Regions from separate parts of the Homo sapiens genome. Here region 2 is linked to region 1. Evidence: promoter capture Hi-C in 16 types of primary human blood cells and fetal thymus (Javierre and others, 2016). All regions are on one chromosome and are shown on one strand. The core of a region is centred on a gene start or on the middle of the fragment in contact, and the rest is flanking DNA. Distances in the headings are between cores, read along the strand shown. Region 1 holds the start of PXDNL (peroxidasin like). Region 2 has its middle 52 kb from the start of SNAI2.

What was found. Contacts are between HindIII fragments. The CHiCAGO score rates a contact against its expected background, and 5 or more counts as called.
Region 2: a contact is called between a fragment that was not itself captured here and the fragment with the promoter of PXDNL in region 1, in 1 of 17 cell types (total B cells). The highest score is 9.4, in total B cells.

Annotation. Positions count from the first base shown.
Region 1 is chr8:51,807,742-51,810,826 of GRCh38, forward strand. PXDNL (peroxidasin like) reads right to left here and starts at 1,704. Exons shown (of 23, transcript NM_144651.5): 1 at 1,440-1,704. The coding sequence starts at 1,603. RefSeq lists enhancers at 1,077-1,599, 1,600-2,121. The HindIII fragment of the contact is 1,936 bases long and covers 1-1,849 here.
Region 2 is chr8:48,972,368-48,975,465 of GRCh38, forward strand. No RefSeq gene overlaps it. Among named protein-coding and RNA genes, the nearest start is that of SNAI2, 52 kb to the left of the region's middle. The HindIII fragment of the contact is 3,028 bases long and covers 188-3,098 here.

The DNA of each region.
Region 1 (3,085 bases), core at 454-2,953:
GTCTAATGCAAGCTAATCTCTTCTTTGAAACACCTAGGAAACAAAATTTAGGTCGAGTTGTACCTCATGTAGCTCCAAGATACTTCATTAGACAAGCAGCCCCTTCTCCAAGGCTTTGCTGCTATCTACCAAAAAACTGTCATTACAAAAGGACAAATGGCTGGTTCTGAGTCTGAAGGCACTTGCAGAACTGTGCTGTCCACATAGCAATAAGCAGTGCTCCCAAGTTCAAGAATCCTTTCAGTTATTACAGTAAGACGTATTTTGATATCTGCATGCATATAAAATTAATGAAATGCTTTATAGAAATGAAAATCTATGGATAATATGTCATTTTCTATGTAAATACCATCAAATTGGACTTTTTATTACCAAGTCCTCATTTCACGATTATGACTGACAAATGTGTGGCAATGATCCTCTTAAACATTTATATCTCAAAATTCCAGGAATTTTAAGCTATTTCCCTCTGCCCAAGAATGGACTTGAAACACTGCAAGCAGTTTTGTCTTCCATGAACATGACACAACCCACAAAATATTTATTATAGAGCAGGAAACCTCTTTAGTCTGCATCTTTCAGCATTTTTCCTTTTCTTCTTTTATTTTTTCTTAAATTTTTGAATTTGTCGTCTTTTTCTTTCTTTAAAAATAGACCCTAGAAACAGATCCTTTTCTTCTTTTGTGGTGATTTGCCCTTCTAATTATCTAATTATGACTTAATTTAATCTAAATAAATCTAAATGTTTGGGTTTATTATCTGAATATTAAAGATGAGAAGATAGGATTTGAACTCAGACCTGTTTGACTTCCAAATTCTGGTTTGCCCTACTATCCCGTAATGCCTCCTAGATGCCGATTAGTCTAAGCGGCTGCTCCACAAGGCTTTTAAGCATTCAAGAACTCTACTGGACCATTTGAGGGTCTGTTCTGGAGACAGACAGTGCTTCAAGTGCTGAGGGCTCAGGACTTCACCCTCCCAGGAGGTACACACAGTACAAAGCCTAACAATTTGTCAGCACATAATCAATTGAAACCACACTCTAAAGTTAAATTAGTTCCTTCCAAATGGGGCAGACACGTGCTGACCAATTAAGAGGCCCAAAGACTTGGGAGTAGAGGATGAATAGGAATAAATTGAGAAAGTATGCAGGAAAATTATTGAAGGAAGAATGAAGACGAGAATTCTCAATGCTAAGTTCTGGAAGATGCTGGAAGAGAACTGAATCCAAAACAAATATATTTATGTCAACTCATCATTGCTTACATTTTCTAGTCTAACAGAGCAGAACCATGAAATTGTTTGAAAAGTGAAAAGCCTCTTCTAAGTATACAAGCAGGGAGAGCATTAGGAATCGTAAATTAAAAGGACACAGGTCCTAGCAGAGAAGCAATGAAGCATTGGGGAAGAGGGTTTCTGGGGAATTTATGTGAACTTACAGAACTGTGGTCTGCTGTGGTACCTGAGGAATGTGGTCCAGCATCAAGTGCATGCAGCGGACGGTGCTCTTAAAGCAAAGGCACCGGCTGGGGCAGGGCAACCCTGGCAGGCACCACCCGGCCAGGAGAAAGAGAGTGGTCCAGCAGAACAGTCTGGGCTCCATCGCTCCATTCGCTGCTGGCCACGCGAAGAAGCAGCCGGAGGGAGAGCAGCAGCTGCAGCTGCAGCAGCAACCGCAGTGGTGGTGATGGTGGCTGCTGGACTGAGCCAAGTTTGGGAGCCGTGGTGGAAAGCAGCTCCCAGGGAAAGGACACCCCTCTGACCAATCCAGGAGGAGGGATATCACATTACAGGGCTGAGGGCACAAGCAGCTCTAGGAAGCACTAGACTCCCAGAGGCGAGGACGAGAAGCTTTTCAATGCAAAAGCCTCTTTCTAAAACACCGTGTTTTAGGCAGCATAATGCAAACAAACTTTTCCAAAATTACTTCCACTGCGCATTTGATGAAAAACCCGACCTCTTAGCCTCCAGCTGTCCTCTTGAAGCCCAAGTTGATTAAGAATGTATTGAAACAATGCAGAACAGCTTTTCTTCTTTTTTATCTGGTAACATTACCAAACCCTAAAGGGCAGGCAGAGTTCTAATTCGTTCATCTAGGTGCACATATTCTTTCTTTATTCCAAACTATGCTCTTTAATAAAAATTGTTTCATTTCCTTCTATATATTCTGCTGCTGAAACCCAACACATTTCACTCATGTAAGACTCAAACGGGCTACTTCTGATTTCTTCTTTTAACGTTTAAATTTATATGCTTAAAACCATGAACTCACATACCTCCTTCAAGAGGATACAACTGATGGACAAACCTAAGTATGTATATGTAAAGTCAAACAGATGCAAGCTCCCTCAGGACACACTGGCAGCAGTGGTCTTGCTGGTTGCAGACTTTTCATCAGCAGTTTGAACTGGCCATCTTTCCCTGAAGTGAGCAGCACCTCGTTGAGGACGTGTCTGAAAACTTAATAAATATGAAAACATCTACTTTTTGGTCATTCTGTAAGCAGGTATTTTTAAACAGATTTTTGGCTTTATCTTTAAAGACTAACATTTTCAAACAAAAATGTTTTAAATCCATAAAAGTAATAGAAAACAAATTAAAACTTGCATGGTCAATCCCAGATGATCAGACTAGTAGACCAATCTTAAGAGGAAAATAAGTTCATCCTTGTCTCTGCAGAAATGTTTCAGTCCCTTTACATTCTACTGTAGGCGAATACTGCCCTCTTTTGGCAAAATGTTCATATCTAAATATGTGATTTTGGGGAGATTAAAATGTAAAAAGATCTAAAAAACAAAACTAATCTCCATGAACAAGAATGATTTATTTTAAACTTTACATTTGACATTGTTCACATGACTTTTATTGTCCAAGTATACCAATAAAGCCAAAAAACGAAATTTATTCCTTTAAATCCCAACAATCACTATGCTCTTGGCAGTGCCTGTGATTTGGAGGACATAGACAAGACCTGCAGGTTTGTGCCTTGTTTGCAGTTCAAAATATAAAATACAAAAAATATAAATAATATAAAATATATAAAATACAAAAATATAAAAATATCTTGCATTCATAAAGTAGACTT
Region 2 (3,098 bases), core at 452-2,951, 2.8 Mb before region 1:
TAGAACTATTTATCATTAATGAAATGTCTGTGTATGTCCTTTGCCTATAGATTTATTGGGACTATCATTGCTTATTGACATATATGAGCCCTTTATAAAAAAAATTAATACTTTTTAGATAATAATCTTTTTGAGATCTGCAATGGGTTTCATGATTAAATGTACGTACATGGTTTGGCCCTTTTTAAGCTTGGATTCAAATGTTAGTCTAATTTATTATTGTTGTTGTTGTGTGCAGTACATTCTCATGAATATATTTTTTAAATTTTCACTATTGGCTCTGAAGAAGGTTTGAAAGCCCTTTGTCACAGGGTTGTTTTTAACGTTTGAATTAACTGTTAAACTGAGCAAAGATGTATTGACTATCTACTCTGTGGCTGTCCCTAGAGGCCCCTCACTCTCCCCGTCCAATACTCTCTTGATGCTGTCTACTTTTCTCTCCCTGCACATTCCTTCCAAGCCATATTCCTAAGTCCCAAGCCTTCATGGGCTGTCTCTCTGGTGTTGGCCACAAACCAGAACCTCTGCTCTCATTTCTTCCCCAGTGTCAGACCCAGGCATGCAGTGTACTCTGTGCCTTGGAAGTCCCGCACATACACCCACGCTGAATCGATCCTGTTGTCTTCTGCCCCCTTTAGTGCTACCTGTCCCCTTTCTGCGCTGATAGCACTTCGCTGGTTTTTCAAGTGAGAAGCCTCACTTACACCTCCCTCCCCCTCATTCCCCATCCAGTCACCAGACCTGTGGTTTTTCTTCCTGCACCTGTGTCTCCCTATGCCCTCCGCCCTGCTCTAGGTCAGGCCACTGTCCACCTTTACTGGGGATATTGAGAACCTCTCAGTTGGTCTCACTACTTTCAGTATTCCCCTCTTTTAACCCCTTTCCTGATAATATAGAGAAAAATATCCTTCAAAAAAATGTACGAATCGTTAAGTCGCTGTTTCGTAAAATGCATCAAACATTTCCATTACTTTTAGGATGAATCCCCACATCCCAGGGTGCTGCTAAAGGCCCCGTGTTCACACCATACTTCCCTCTCACATAGCTTCAACCAAAACCCCTGTCTTCATCTGTGATACAGACAGATTGAGCAGTTCCATAAATTAACTCCTTGAGTTTGTCCTGCTCTCTCTTGCCTTTGGATTATTTCCTGTGATGTTTTTCTACCTGGACTATCCCTCCCATCTGTTCATTCCCCTAGTCTATGTTCACCTGGCTAATGCATACTCTGTACTGAATTTCAGCTTAGATATTCCTTCTGTGGGCTGTCTTTTCCTAGCCCATAGCTGTACTTGTCACTGCTTTACTTATTTTCCCCCATCACTAGATCAGAGACCCTTGGCAACAGAAACAGTGTTGTTCTGTCCTTACATGCCCAGTGGCTAGCCAATGTCTGCAACATGGTATGGTCTGAATAAATGCCCATTGATTGAACAATGAATGGGGCTGAAGTGCAATGCAGTGTTCTCACTGGGGGTACTGTCCCAGGAACCCTAACAATAAGAGTGTCCCTGATTTTTTTGTGAGTTGCTTCTTCCTGTACTTCAAGTGTACCATTGAAAGCTGATGTTAACAAAAATCACAAATCGTAGATGCTAATTTAGTAGTTTCAAGTTATAAGTAGTCATGTATAGTGTCCAACAGGAGCACTTTAATACACACTGAGCATCTGACATCTCACCTATGTATCTGTCTTGTGTTAGACTCTGTGAGGATGCAAAGTTAACCAAGATTGGTCCCCTGGGCTCTGTCAAGTCAGTCTCCATTTAGTGGAAAAATGCAAATGATAGGGACTCTACCTGAAGGCAATTTGCTAATATCACTGAGTTCATAAGTGTAGATATGTAGATGCAGATGTGGAGGCTGATGCAAATGCAGATGTAGGGGTAGATGTGGATGCAGATGCAGATGTAGATGCAGAAGAAGAGGTATTCACTGATGCAGATGCGGATGCAGAGGTAGATGTAGATGAGGATGCAGATGCAGAGAGACTCAGATGCAATGCAGATGAAGATTCAGATTTAGATTTAGATGTTGATGCTGAAATGGATGCAGATGTAGATACAAATTTAGATGTAGATGCAGCTGTAGATGTGGATGTGGATGCAGATGCAGACGTAGATGCAGATACAGATGTAGATGTAGACACAGGTCTAAATTTAGAGGCAGATTTAGATTTAGATGTGGATGCGGATGTGGACACGGATGCAGATGTAGACAGGGATGCGGATGTGGAAGTGGCTGTGGATGCAGATGCCACTGTGAATGCAGATGTAGATTATGTAGATGTAGATACAGATTCAGACTGACATTTAGATGTTGATCTGAATGCAGATGCCAATGTAGATGTGGATGTAGATGTAGACGCAGATGTTGATGCAGATTTAGATGCATTTAGATGTAGTTGTAATGTAGATGTAGAGACCGATGCAGATGTAGTGATGTAGATACAGGTGCAGATGCAGAGGCAGGATTAGATTTATTAATTTATTTATTTTTGAGACGCAGCCTCACTCTGTCGCTGGAGTGCAGTGGTGCCATCTCGGCTCACTGCAACTTCTGCCTCCCAGGTTCAAGTGATTCTCCTGCATCAGCATCCCAAGTAGCTAGGATTACAGGTGCCCATTACCACACCCGGCTAATTTTTATATTTTTAATAGAGATGGGGTTTCGCCATGTTAGCCAGGCTGGTCTTGAACTTCTGACCTCTGGTGATCCACTCACCTTGACCTCCCAAAGTGCTGGGATTACAGGCGTGAGCCACAATGGCTGGGCCTCAGATTTAGATTTAGACGTAGATGTGGATGCATATGTAGATATACATGAGGATGCAGATGTGGATGTGGATGCAGATGTAGTTGTAGATATTCATTCTCCAGGCCCTTTATTCTCTGGGTAGTTTCTACATTGTTTGGTCAAGGAAATGGAAGTAATAGTGAAGCAGGCTCACTGTGCACTGGTCATCCACATCTCAGTCTGGTAAGACAGATCATGCATGCAGTAAGTTATATCAGGAGGGTTTATTACTTACAGATAGGCAGTGAGGGACAACAGAAGCCTAGGATCCATGTTGAGCTGGTCCCCAGGCTCAAGAAAGC